Regions from separate parts of the Homo sapiens genome. Here all the other regions are linked to region 1. Evidence: promoter capture Hi-C in 16 types of primary human blood cells and fetal thymus (Javierre and others, 2016). All regions are on one chromosome and are shown on one strand. Each heading gives the region's core, a stretch centred on a gene start or on the middle of the fragment in contact. The rest is flanking DNA. Distances are from core to core; before and after follow the strand shown. Region 1 holds the start of RELN (reelin). Region 2 overlaps RELN (reelin). Region 3 overlaps RELN (reelin). Region 4 holds the start of LOC105375435 (a long non-coding RNA gene). Region 5 overlaps RELN (reelin).

Region 1 (2,700 bases), core at 85-2,584:
TTTATTTTTGATGCAGGGCTGCATAATGATTCCATTTTTAAGATACCTCTAAATTATAAGGGATTCCAGCCTCTACCTGGAAATTAAAGCTGTGCAGATAAAATACAAAGTCATTAATAAACATCACAAAGATAATTCTAACAAGAAGCACCATGTAAAAGTAAGGCAGGAATCAGAAAAATCATCAATTACTGACATATTAAATCACACTTTCAAAAGAATAGGGAGCTGGAAGCAGCCGCTCCCTTTCAGGAGGGCTGTATGACACTGAATGAAATGCCAGGGACTCCTGGCTGGTGAGCAGCGGGAACTTTGCGGTCGAGCGGCGCGGGGCAGCCACAGACCTGGGCGCTTCAATCTGTCACCAGCCTGCCCGCAAAGCCCAGCGACAGCCCCCAACGCCCCCCCGGGGACCCATCTGGGGGGACCGGGAGCAGGACAAAGGTCTGAAATCCAAGTCCTAGGAGTAAAGAAACAAAATGCGCAGGTTCAATTTAAAGTGCCTGCGGTAAGTACGGGGAGTGAGGGGGAAAGACACCGGCCTCCAAGAATTCTCAGGCGTTTAGCACAAGCACCAGCTCATTACCAGGAGATGCGTTCGGGGAGTGGGGACATGGAGAATGAATCCCAACTTGTGACTCCATTCTCCACTAACTTTATTCTCGCTCCCTGGACCAAGCGCATCGCTGGGGCCAGGGTTGTCATGGTTCTTGTTTCCAAGGCCCCTTGGAAGAAGGAAAGGGATGAGAAAGGTGCGCTGGCGGGCGCACCCGGCGGCGGCGAGCGCGGAGGTGCTGCGGTACCTACCATGGTATTCTTGTCCCGGAACGTAGTAGGTGGGGTTGCCCGCAATATGCAGGGAAATGAGCACCTCGCCCTGCTCCCCATCCCCTTCCAGCTCCCCGTGGTGGGTGCACAGGAAAAAGAAGGGCGAAAAGCGGGGGTAATAGCCAGCCGCCGCGCGCGCCCTCAGCGTCGCCCCCAGCAACAGCGCTAGGAGGAAAGTCTGCCGGGCCCAGCCACTGCGCTCCATGCCGCCGCCGCCGCCGCCGCCGCCGCGCGCCCTACGCGCCGCTCGCTCATTCAGTTTTGGAGACGCCGGGACGGAGGAGCCACGCGGAGAGAAGGCGAGAAGAAGGCGGACGGGAGCGGAACGGGCTCGGGAGCGGGCCTGGGAGCGGGCCCCCGCCGAGAAGTTCCGCGGGAGACGGCGGCTCCCAAAGTTACTTTGGGCCGCGGGAGCGCGGGACCGGGGCTGCGGGCGCCGAGAGCGCGTCGTCTGCCGCCTCCGTGCGCCGCCGCCGCCTCTGCGCGACGCCCCTCGGCCAGGCCTGGGAAAGCGCCCGCCCCGCTCCACACCTTCTTAAAGCCCCGGGCGCCGCGTCCCCCCCGCCGCCGCCACACGTGTCCCGGCCGCTCCCCCGCCCCCGCGCGCCGCCCCGCCCGCCCCCCGCCCTCTCGGGCTGGCTCGGCGGCACCTCGCGCGGCGAGGGGCGCACGCGTCCCCGGAGTCCCCGGCCAGCGCCCGGTTCGCACCCGGGAGGACAGGGAGGGGCGCCCGCCGGGGAGCGGGACGGGGACGCTGTCGAGGACCGCTGAGCCCGCGACTCTTCTGCGAGGGACGTCAAAGCCCCGCAGAGGGCACCTCCCGTCCAGCTGTCTGAAGGGGAAGGCCAGCCCCTTTGGCCGTCAGTGTGCCCTGTTTTTCCTGGGAGGATGCGTGAGGGAAGGAGAGGGGCGGCAGGGACGGCCGCTGGCGCCGGTTTCTTTGTCTGAGCCGGCTGCGTCCCGCGCCCCTCGGGGCTCGCAGTCTGCCAGTCCGGGCGGCCCGCACTCGTTCTGGGAATCCGCCCGAGGCCGCGAACCGCTAGGGGCCCTCGCGCTCCCTTCCCACCCAGGCCCCCTGTCCCTCCCGCCGCGGCCGCCCGGCCCCTCGCGGCAGCGACAGAGCCTCATCTGTAGAGGATTTTAAAATGAGATTAAGCGAAAGTGGAATTGGCAGACTCGAGTGGTGCCTGGAAATGGTGATTTGTGCTGCTCGGTTGTGGGGAATTGTAAGGCAGGAAGGGCTGGCGGAGCTAAGATCCGACAGGCTCTCTTCGCCGGACTGTTCTGTTATTCATTGCTTCTGGGCTCTTCAGGCAGAGATGGGTGTTGTAATTTTTTAAATCAGTGTTTATTTCCTTTAAATGTCGGTTATGACCAATGGCCCTGAAATCGGGGGAGGGAAAAACGTTCAGGGGAGATGCTGGCAGCGGTGATTGAAGCGGGTGGTAATGAGCGGCTGCACATGAACTGCAGGGAAGTGAAATAATCCATAAGCACGTTTTTAACCGAGGACGGCTGGCAGGAGCCCTGCGGCATCCGGAGATGGGGGAGCGGGGTTGCCAGGTTTTAATGCCTCTCCCCACCCACCCTTGGCTTGCCACCAAGCCAGATAAACCCGCACGTACAGAAATGAGTAGATTATAAAATTGGAAGGGATAGTGCCTTTGCCTGCATTTGTGGGGCGAGGGGCGGTGAAAATCAGGGTCCAAGGGGAGACCTCTGTAATCACTTCGTTGCAAAAGGAAGAAATTGTTTTTCTTCCTCTTACTGAGACCGAATGACAGGTAGAAAGGGCCCATTTCTAGCTGGCTTCTTGTTTCCCTTACTTCAAAATCCCCAGAGGCTTAACTGCCATATAAATAATATACAGTG
Region 2 (2,873 bases), core at 361-2,860, 430 kb before region 1:
AGCACTTTGGGGGCCCAAGATGGGCAGATTGCCCAAGCCTGGGCAATATGGCAAAACCTCGTCTCTATAAAAAAGCAAACAAATAAACAAAAAAATTAGCTGGACATGGTGGTGCATGCCTGTAGTCCCAGCTATTCAGGAGGCTGAGGTGGGAGGATGGTTGAGCCTGGGAGGTGGAGGTTGCAGTGAGCCAAGATCACGCCACTGCACTCCAGCCTGGGCAACAGAGCAAGATGCTGTCTCAAAAAAAAAAAAAAAAAAAGTGAAAAAATTAAGCTTGCAACCATATTAAATTGATATACCATGGAACTGCCTTGCTAATTTCAGAAAGCTGTGACAATGCTGTGTATATAATGTATGTGAAAGCATGCTGTCCTTCAAATAATAGCAGTGCTATGAACCCTCCCCTGGCAAGAGTGGGTTTTGAGTTGTGTTTTAGTGGTTTAGGGGAATCTGTGAGACATGCAGTCTGTGAGAATGAGTGGTCAGTTAGTGGACTTAGAGCCGAGGAACACTAATCAGTCTATTCAGGGAGCAATTCATGCTTTTTAGGGCCAACCCATGGCTTAGCACCATACTTCAGTCAGGCTGAAGGACTATGGCCATTAAAATAATGCCCTGATACGTAATTGCATTTATTTGTTTATTTAATACAGAAGAAAAATATTCTATGATCAATAATACTCCATGTTTTCTTAATGTTTTTCATATCTTCTATGTTGATCTGGAGATACTGTGGGAATATATAGGAAACTAGGGAAATCACCCTTTATACTGCTATAGTATTTGATTCAGTGATTTAGACCAGGTGTTTAAGGAATATGTTAGAGTAGATAATAACGGCAAAAGCCAGGCTGCTTTTGTAAAGCACTGTTTGGACTGACCTTGAAAAAAGGTGATAAGTCCATGCCAAGCAGGAACGTCAAGATTCCCTAGGTTGCTTCTTCACTGATTTCTACTTCAGTGCAATTCTTACAAAACATAAAAAAGGATCTGTAAACAGGAGCCTGTAGAACAAACCTGATGCTTTGAATGAAATCACAGGTCTCTATCTCTAATCCTATCAGTGTTCTAATTCTAGTAGCATTCTTTCCTCTTCTTGTTTAGAAAGTGGTTGGTGGAATCAATGAAAAAATAATTAGGTGAGCACTCCAAACATAGTATGAAGACAGCAATCCCTCCGTCACCCAGGCTGGAGTGCAGTGTCATGATCTCGGTTCACTCCAACCTCTGCCTCCCAAGTTCAGTGATTCTCCTGCCTCAGACTCCCAAGTAGCTGGGATTACAGGTGTGTGCCACCACGCCCAGCTAATTTTTTTGTATTTTTGTAGAGATGGGGTTTCATCATGTTGGCCAGGCTGGTCTTGAACTCCTGACCTCAGGTGATCCACCTGCCTCGGCCTCCCAAAGTGCTGGGATTACAGTTGTGAGCCACTGCGCCTGGCACATTCCTTTTTTGGACTTTTATTCAGTGACAAGATGTATGTATACATATATGTTTCACAATACATTAAAAATTTTGTTTTATGTTTTAGTTTTAACATATTGTTAAGGAAATAGGTTAAATTTTAGAGATGGAAGAACCTTTGCCTTTTCCATTTTTGTGTTGCCTCTGCAAAGAATCTGCTGCTTAATGTGGCATCTCCATGCTTATTTAGGTGATTATATGCATGACTTGGTAAAGTCTGGTCCTTTATAATCAGCAGTTAATAGAAATATAGAAAGCAATAAAACATTACCAATTTGTAGAATCATTTTCTGTAACCATTTGAAATGTATTAAATTATACATTCACTTTAACTTATCACTGAAGCAAGTGTATGTGATAAGAATATTTTATCTACGGCACTATCTGCTTGGTCTAAGTCCCTCTCACTTCGTCATGGCATTTTGCTATAGTATTCTATTTCACTAATGAAACGCCACACTCAGAAGAACTATGTATTCCCAAATAAATGCAACAAAAATGTCATTACAACTGATGAGTGCCTAATGATAATGCTGGATTATTTTTAAAAATCTTTAGCTCTGTAACAGAATTCAGCTATATTTACATTAACAGGAGAACCCACTAGTCAAATATGAAGAGATTATATATACGTGTATATATATATATATATGTTAAATATTTAAATATTTATTGAGACTTGTTGATACGGTTTGGCTCTGTGTCCCCACCCAAATCTCATCTTGAATTGTACTCCCATAATTCCCATGTATTGTGGGAGGGACCCAGGTGGGAGATAATTTGAATCATGAGAGCAGTTTCCTCCATAATGTTCTTGTGGCAGTGAATAAGTCTGATGAGATCTGATGGGTTTATCAGGGGTTTCCACTTTTGCATCTTCCTTATTTTCTCTTGCTGCTGCCATGTAAGACATGCCTTTTGCCTCCCGCCACGATTCTGAGGCCTCCCTGGCCATGTGCAAGTGTAAGTCCGATTAAACCTCTTTTTCTTCCCAGTCTGGGTTTGTCTTTATCAAGAGCACGAAAACGGACTAATACATTTGTCAAAAGTGAAGCATGTAAAATGTGTGTGCTGTGGACAGCTAAGCTGCTCAGTTGACAAACACTTCCTCCACACCTTAGAAACAAATGTGTTAACATGCCACTATCAGTTCTGATCACAGGAGAACACATGCATTTTTACCGTTATTATAAGGTTGCCAGAGTCTGAATCTTGTAGCATTGGTTTGGGCAGTGTATGGCAAGGGAACATTGATGAAAAGTATATTCGTTGTTTGAGGAAAGTAAAATTCATCCATCAGGTGCCAAGTGATTCCTCCACTGATGGAGAATTGTAACAGAATAGAGTGAGATCTCTCTGGGGTACCTAGGAAGAAGATAACACAGGTATAAAACATACTGTGATA
Region 3 (2,700 bases), core at 144-2,643, 350 kb before region 1:
GATAGGAATTAATTTAAATATTTAGAAACTATTGGAAAATGAATCTATCTTTAACTATTTCAGATGTATAAAGGGAATGTGTACACCCTTGACCTAGATAGATGTCCTTAGCAGAACTGTGTTGCCTCTCAGTGGACTCTCCCAAATTAGTGGCACTTCAAGAAAAACAAACCTTTCCCCACTCCCCAACAACCTGCTTGCTTCTATGTAAGAATGTGCTGTATTTATATTAGCTGACTAGAATATACAGGAGTGCCCCAAGTTTTCTATCAGTGAGAAAACCTCATCACAGATGAATCAGCAATGGAAACATCTACGTTTTAAGGAGATTATTCATCAGGAAATAGTTTCAAATTATTTGTTTTTACTGTGCTATTTCCTTCTCACTACATTTATAATGTTGCTCAATTGGTATCTTTTTGAGTGGGGGATTCTCATGGGAGCATTCAAAGCTTGCTGAAGTCTGAAACAAGCCTTTACAAAGCAAGTGTACCAATGAAGTGATACTATGGCATGACTCAGGATACTTCTTTGGCAGTACTACTGAGACTTGGGTCTATGCTGGCCTTTCAAGGAGTCCATGGAATGTAAAAATATGCTAAATCAAATGACCAGTTTTATGTATATTGGATTTTCTGGGGAGAAGGTCCATAGGTTTTATCAGATTACCAAATAAGTTGGAGCCTAAAATGCTAAGAACTACTGTAGCATGAAGTTTGAAGGTTGTCTTGGTATCTTAAGTAGCATCAATAAGGGGATGAAAGGAAAGCCAATATTTACTGGATGAGCCTTCTTTCACATGTTGTCTAATGGACTTAGACTGAACTTAGACTGAATAGCCAAGTTGTTTCCAAAAAAGAATTTTTAAAATCAGCTAAATTGAACACATTTTAAAGTCAGGAAACTGAATGTGTTTTACCACAGTCACGAATTGGAATTAATTTTCCTTAGCAAGACTATCTATTCCAGAGTGCATTTTAGGGCAATTACATTTTTGTGTATCTTAAATGTGTCTTCTCAGGACAAGTGACTGGGAGAAACTGGTGATCGTTTAGAGATGACTCACATTGGAGTCACTTTCCATTTAGTCGTTTTAAAAGTCTACTTTTAATCAAAGGTTATTCAGTTGAGATATAATGCTGATAAAGATAAAGTAGTTTTTTAAAAATATTTTTTAAAAAAAACAAAAAACTTTGTAGTCTTTGTTTCTCAGCAAAACAACAAGGTCACACACATTGGTGATTTCGGGTATGACACGAGGCTCTCCTGACTCCCAATATGTCTGCTACTAATCCATCTACACATGCTTAAATTTAGCGGTATAGTCACCCTGTAATGTCAGGAAAATCACCCCACTGTTAAGCTACATGGATGACACTCGTGAAGAAAGGGGTTCTAATGCTCTGTCTCCTCATTAGCATCTCTAACAGGGTTGGGCTTATCAGGTTAGTAGTGTGTCCATTTAGAGAACCAGGCCTGGGATTGTACACAGGCCAGAAAGTGTTAGAGGGAACATGAGAGAGTAGAATCTTGATAGCAAATAGCAGTAAAACACGGGGGAGAGGTGGAGTAAAGAGGAGAGAAAAATATAAAGTTGCAAAGGTCCCAGATTCAATGATTTGTTTAAAGGAAGTAAGTGGTATTACATATACATTTCTTTTCTGTGTGATTTTGCTCAAATTCAATAAGGTACACATTGCTGGAAAAGGAGGTAGTAGTCAAACTTTTAGCCCAGCCGTAAGCGAACAAAGCCAATGAATATTACATAAAACATTGTTAGAAATAGGGAAAAACACTAAAGTTCTAAATGGTGAAAATATTCCATAAAACCTCAGAAGGAGGAAAAGACTATGACTATTCGGAATAATGGATGGTGTCAAAAAAGAACAATGTCCAAAAGCATAAAGCTACCATTTAGATTTGTTTGTATCCACCATGGGTGGCATAGATGGTAGCCTTAATGAAACCACTTAATTCTAAGAGGAATATGATACACATAAAATGAAGTCTGAAGTATAACTACTGTAATTATGGATAGGTCTTTTTAGAAATGCCACTTTCTATTTTTTGAAAATAAAAGTTGTCATTCTAGGTAATTTTTTTCCCCAAAACTTTTTAGGACAACATCAGGATTTGCAAAACTATCTGGCCTCATGTTAATTTTATTTGAAATACACTAAGAAGATGGTCTGATTATGGATAATGGATGCACATAACAACTTGAGGAAGATATCAGCCAATGTTTCATAGATCTACTGACCAGTGTTTTGGAATGGGAGTTGGTAGTTTTACTAGAAAACACAGGAATGCATATTCAGTTTGGAAATATAGATGGAAGCTTTTCAATTCTTCACATACTTTATAAAAAATTTCCATTGGGAAAAGTGATCTCTTTGTTAACTAAATTCACTGAAATATAGTTAGAAAGTTAAAAAGCCACACTAATCTCAATGTCAACAAGCGCTTGGCTCATACATGCAATTTCTTTTTTTTCTTTTTCTCTCTTTTTTTTTTTTTTTGAGATGGAGTCTCACTCTGTCGCCCAGGCTGGAGTGCAGTGACACGATCTTGGCTCACTGCAACCTCTACCTCCCGGGTTCAGGTGATTCTCCTGCCTCAGCCTCCCGAGTAGCTGGGATTACAGATGCACGCCACCACGCCCGGCTAATTTTTGTATTTTTAGTAGAGATCGGGTCTCAC
Region 4 (2,874 bases), core at 139-2,638, 460 kb before region 1:
TATTCACAATAACAAAGACATGGAATCAACCTAATAGCCCATCAATGATAGACTGGATAAAGAAAATGTGGTACATATACACCATGGAATACTATGCAGCCATAAAAAGGAATGAGAATCATGTCCTTTGCAGGGATGTGGATGGAGCTGGAAGCCATTATCCTCAGCAAACTAATGCAGGAACAGAAAACCAAATACCATATGTTCTCACTTATAAGTGGGAGCTGAACAATGAGAACACATGGACACACAAGGGGGGAACAACACACACTGGGGCTTGTTGGAAAGTGGGGAGTGGGAGGAGGGAAAGCATCAGGAAGAATAGCTAATGGATGCTGGGCTTAGTACCTAAGTGACTGGATGACCTGTGCAGCAAACCACCACGGCACATGTTTACCTATGTAACAAACCTACACATCCTGCACATGGAACCCTGAACTTAAAAGCTGGAAATGAAAAAAAAAAGAAGAAGCTTTTCTGAATGCAAATCTGTTCATGTCTCCCTATTGCCAAACACTTTAACAGGCTTTTAAGTGTTCCTATAATGAACCTCCAAATCTTTAATACAACCTACAATGCTCTTCATGGTCTGACACCATCTCATACCTCACCTTGCTCCTCTCTCTATCTGATCCATATATTCAGCATCTCAAATACACCTGTCCCCTCCTACAATTGGCTGCTATCCTTGCTTGGAACACTCCTACCCTTACACTTTACCTGGTTAACTTGTATTCAACCTTCATATCTTACCTCAATTATCCTTTTTTCAAGAAAGCATTCCTTGGCCTTCTTGACCAGGTCACATCACCCTACGATACAGAAACTTAGAGCATCATGTACCTGTTCTCCATCACTTATCACAGTTGAATTTTATATTTACTCCTGTGATTATTGGTGATTTCTGGCCAATACTCCTCTCCTACCAAATTAAAAGCTCCTTGAGTCAGGGATCAGTTCAGCTCCCTCATAGGCCTAGCACATAATTAAGCAGTTAAAAATATTTGTTTAATGAGTGACTGAATGAATAATTGCTACTGATGACTAGTGACCATTTTAGTTTGGTGAATGGTTTGACGTCAATTTGTGACCAGCCAACCTCAGCTGACACTCACTAGTACTGTGCCAACAATACTGGGATCCTAGCCTTATGGTCATGTGTTGAGTAGACAAGGCTGCAGTTGTGACATGGTCACAGTCATTCCTAACCCTTACTGAGCACATGTCTTTAAGTTGTCAGCATCACGTTTCTTTATAGCGAAGAGCTACAAACTGAAATCCTCAATTCTGGCCTGCTTAATAAACATTGACATTTCAATACGTTTCCAGATAACAGAGACAGCGATTTTAATTTAAAACAAGGAAACACCATATTTACCAAGTAACTGAATATAAATGTAGATGTAGTGTAGATATGTTTACTCATGTTCGAAACAAGTAACTCTGAGACTGGCATATTGTTCTAATGATCTTTGGCATATGGCAGAGAAGTGACTCTGGCTTGGGCTCCCTCCATGCACATTTCTTTCTGAATTACCCAAAGGGCCTTGTTACAAGGCAGTGTCACCTTTAAGACAATTGTACATGAGCCTTGAGGGTAATATAATAAACAAACTGCTTATTTTCAGTACAGAACAGGGGGAAATGGATGCTCATCAGATTTTTCAAATAACATTTGAAAGGGTCAAAATTCTTGTGGGTATGTACAAGAGACAATTAAAAGATAGATTAAAAGATGAGAAATAATTACTTTTCTTGAGTAAAAGACTCAAGGGCATAATGACTAGCTGGAGTAAATCTTAGAATGTCGCTTATTTGCAAAATGTGACTGAGTAGCTGGGTAATAATTCATAGAATTCATAAAGACTTAAAAGACTGTTGCCTTAATGGAGTTTTTTTTTCTATTTTACTTATTAAGATCGCTTTAATAATTCATGCATGGCAACACCTTTAATGAGCAACAAAATCTCACGTATCTCATTTAAACTTGGCAACTCTGCTGACAGTTAATATAGTCTCGTACCTCTGAGCCAGCAATTGTAAAGCAGCCCTAGGCTGTTACTAACTGAAACCATCCCATTTATGATAATCCTAAGAAAAGTTATGCCCTAGATGAATGGTTGAATTTTATGGTCATTTGCTAGGAAAATTTATTCATTCTTCATTTGTGGGAAGATGACAAAACAATAATAAGCCCAAACTATAACTCCTGTTCCACACACTGGATTGGTTGCTTTGCTTCTTTCTTAATGCAGCAACTGAAAACCATTTTCTTGGAGGAAATAGGAGTTTCTATCAAGATGTTAAAGCTTTCCTATAATTAGCACCTAGTTTAGATGGTGAAAGAGAGAGTGTCATGTAACACTATTCCACTAGGCAAAGCTAATTCTCTGCTTTACTCAAACAGGAGTGGAAATGCACAGATAATTTAGATTTAACTTCTTTATCAGAATTTACTAGGCAATTTTATTTACTTTAATTTTTAATTTTTTTTTTTGAGACAGGGTCTGGCTCTGACACCCAAGCTGGAGTGCAGTGGCATGATCATAGCTCACTGCATTCTCAAACTCCTGGGCTCTAGTGATCCTCCTGCCACAGCCTCCTGAGTGGCTGGGACTGCAGGTAGGTACCACCATGCCTGGCTAATTTTTTAATTTTTTTTGTAGAGATGGGGTCTCGCTGTTGTTTCCCAGGCTAGTCTTGAACTCCTAGTCTCAAGTGATCCTTCCGTACCAGGCAATTTTATTAAGCCCTGATCCCTTTCCATAGAGACAAGAATGAAAGGTTTTTCACATAAAATAATGCTTCAGGTGATAATTCTCAAGATAATGTCCATAATAAAATTTTAAAAGCAGACATAATTTAAAGGTACAT
Region 5 (2,855 bases), core at 268-2,767, 320 kb before region 1:
ATGATTATGAAATTTTATCTCAACTTTGCATTTACATGATTAGTAGTGAGGCTAAATATATTTTCATGTTTATTGGCCAGTTGGGGTCACTCTTATCTTGAGTTGCCTATTTATGTCCATTTTGTATTAGGATCACTCTTTTCTTTCTCTCACTTTCTTATGATTTGAATTCTTTATATATTCCAGGTAGTAATCTTTTCTTGACTATCTGTATTGTACTTTTTTTCACTTTGTTTATGTGTCGTTGGATGTATGGATGAGTTTTAATTTTAATATAGTAGAATTTATCTATCTTTTCTCTATGCTTTGTGCCTTTTTTATCTGATTCTCCCTTACCCTCAAATCATAGAGATACTCGTCTATATTTTCTTCTAAAAGTTTTAAAGCTTTGCTTTTCACATTTAGGTGGTTTTAATGAACCTGAAATTGATTTGAGGTAAGGAATGAGTTTGAGATCCAATATGGTTTTTTCTATACAGATAGGCATTTATTCCAGAACTGTTAACCGTTGGCCCTAATTATTGGTAATGCCACTTCTGTCACATAACAATCCCCTATAAACGTGAGTCTGTTTCTACAATTAACTTGCCTCTCTTTTTTCCTCCATTAGTCTATATGTCCATCTCCGTGTCCAAACCAATTTAAATATCATACATATGGTGTGTGTGTGTGTGTGTGTGTGTGTATATATATATATATATATAAAATCTGTATATGTAAAATAGCTCTTGATAGCTGAGCTCCCTCTGTCCCTCAGCCACACCTTTCACTTCTTCACAATTGTCTTGGCTACTGTTGCCCTTGTTAACTCTTCCTAATGAATGTTAGAATCACTTTGTTGAGTTCTATTAAAAACCCTACTTGGATCTCGACAAGAATCCGATGTCTCTTTAGTTACTGATAAGAAGTTATCTATTGAATTGTTGCTTCTTTGTAAATAATCTTTCTTTCTCTCTGGTTGCTTTTTTGTCTTTGGTATTCTAAAATTTTTCTGCAGTGTATGTAGGTATAGGTTTATTTTATTTATTCTATGGAAACTTGGTGTACCTTGTCAGTTTGGGGATTCAAACCTTTAATCAGGTCTGGAAAAATGTAAGTCACTATCTTTTCAAATATTAACTATCCTCTATTCATTCTATATTCCTTCTGGAAATTCTATGGGACCTGTATTGAAATGTCATATTCTATTCTCCGTGTCTCTCACTCTCTCATTAATCTTTATTTCTTTTTATATTGCATTATGTGTTTTTTTCTCAGATCTGTCTCTAGTTCAGTATACTAATTCTCTCTTCAGTTGTTTCTATATTTTTACCTTTATAGTTAATACTTAATTTCTATCACTGTATTTTTCATTTTAAAAAGTTTTCTTTGATTTTTTTATTTTTTATTTATTTATTTTTTTTGAGAAATGGTCTTGCTCTGTTGTTCAGGCTGGAGTGCAGTGGTGCAATTCATGGCTCATGGTAGCCTTAACGTCTTGGGCTCAAGCGAACCGCCCACCTCAGGCTCTCCTCAGAGTAGCTGAGACTACAAGGAGGCACCACCATGCCCAGGTAATTTTTGTATTTTTCCTTTTAGAGATGATGTTTTGTCACGTTGCCCAGGCTGGTCTGAAACTCCTGGGCTCAAGCAATCTACCGATGTTGGCCTCTTAAAGTGCTGGGATTACAGGTGTCAGCCACTGTGCCCCACTTCTTTGATTCTTTTTAATATTTGCTTGTTCTTTTCTCATAGTACCCTCTTCTTTCAAAATGACTTAGATTTAAAAAATCTTTTAAATCATTTAATCATATTTATCTCATATCTCTCTTATCTCAATTGGAATGCACTTATTCTTCTGTTTGTCATATCTGATGACTGTCCTTTTTGGTGAATCATAAAATCACACAGATCATAATTCTTGTTGTGAGCTCAACTTTAGTGGACTTATTTCCAGTGTTAATTTTACACACTTTGTGTAGAAGAAATATTTTTACAAAGGGGTTCTGCATTTGCGTTTGTGAGCATCTTGGAGGTTCCCTGGTCCTGAATTTCTTTTTACATTAATTCCTCAGTTTAGAATTTTCCCACCACCTGGGTGGAATGAATGTGAATTTCACATTTGTTTGGAGTTTCCATTCTTCTGGGAGATTTTTTTTTTCACACTTGAATCAATGAGAGAAGTTGTTATCCTAATTACTTCTTTATGGAGAAGGAGCTCTTCAGGGTCCCGTATTTATACAAGAGTATCAGTTCTATCTGTCATCTGCCAAAGATCCTGTGTGAGTATTTTTAACTCTAATCTTCAGCCTTCGATTACATATGTTCAGTCCATCCTGAACTGCCTAAGTTTCAGCTAAAGGCTTATTACTCAGGTTTTTAATTTCCCTTTGTTTTAGGTATCTGCTCATTTCCTCCCCTATCCTAGGGCTACATATTGAAGAAAATTATCATACTTGATCCAACATTTCTATGGATTTGCAGAGGAAAAGGAATTGCATGAGCTCAGCCAGCCTTGTTGTCACAGCTTCAAATTTTCAGCTGGCTGATTACTATTAGCAATGATGGGGAACTAAAAGAGGTAAGCTAATTAGTTCATTTTAGGCTCTCATTTAATTATGTCATCAGGAGTGTTAACAAATTAAAGGACGATGTCATCTTTCAAATCAGCAAGCTTCTCTTTTAGAGTAGGTTCAATTTATTTTAACATGTTAAATAATCAATTTTTAAATGTAGTCTGGTTATTAACTTTTTTCTTGTTTCTAAATATCCTTGGTGACTTTATTATATAAAAAGCAATTTTATAAATAAAAACAATTGTTAGTTACTGAATATTAATAATTATCCTAAGGCATGAAGATATGTTTCTTTTCAGG

The links. Contacts are between HindIII fragments. The CHiCAGO score rates a contact against its expected background, and 5 or more counts as called.
Region 2: a fragment that was not itself captured here is called in contact with the fragment with the promoter of RELN in region 1 in 1 of 17 cell types (endothelial precursors); the score reaches 6.9 in endothelial precursors.
Region 3: a contact is called between a fragment that was not itself captured here and the fragment with the promoter of RELN in region 1, in 1 of 17 cell types (endothelial precursors). The highest score is 5.2, in endothelial precursors.
Region 4: a fragment that was not itself captured here is called in contact with the fragment with the promoter of RELN in region 1 in 1 of 17 cell types (endothelial precursors); the score reaches 5.1 in endothelial precursors.
Region 5: a contact is called between a fragment that was not itself captured here and the fragment with the promoter of RELN in region 1, in 1 of 17 cell types (endothelial precursors). The highest score is 5.7, in endothelial precursors.

The regions. Positions count from the first base shown.
Region 1 is chr7:103,988,324-103,991,023 of GRCh38, forward strand. RELN (reelin) reads right to left here and starts at 1,335. Exons shown (of 65, transcript NM_005045.4): 1 at 808-1,335. The coding sequence starts at 1,033. The HindIII fragment of the contact is 6,896 bases long and covers 1-2,700 here.
Region 2 is chr7:103,554,327-103,557,199 of GRCh38, forward strand. It overlaps RELN (reelin), which reads right to left. Exons shown (of 65, transcript NM_005045.4): 38 at 2,651-2,833. Among named protein-coding and RNA genes, the nearest start is that of SLC26A5, 110 kb to the left of the region's middle. The HindIII fragment of the contact is 2,672 bases long and covers 275-2,873 here.
Region 3 is chr7:103,636,899-103,639,598 of GRCh38, forward strand. All of the region lies in intron 17 of RELN (reelin), which reads right to left. Among named protein-coding and RNA genes, the nearest start is that of SLC26A5, 190 kb to the left of the region's middle. The HindIII fragment of the contact is 1,886 bases long and covers 451-2,336 here.
Region 4 is chr7:103,532,009-103,534,882 of GRCh38, forward strand. The region is part of intron 46 of RELN (reelin); the gene reads right to left. It overlaps LOC105375435 (a long non-coding RNA gene), which reads left to right and starts at 2,582. Exons shown (of 3, transcript XR_001745315.2): 1 at 2,582-2,622. The HindIII fragment of the contact is 1,837 bases long and covers 471-2,307 here.
Region 5 is chr7:103,664,679-103,667,533 of GRCh38, forward strand. All of the region lies in intron 11 of RELN (reelin), which reads right to left. Among named protein-coding and RNA genes, the nearest start is that of SLC26A5, 220 kb to the left of the region's middle. The HindIII fragment of the contact is 2,267 bases long and covers 385-2,651 here.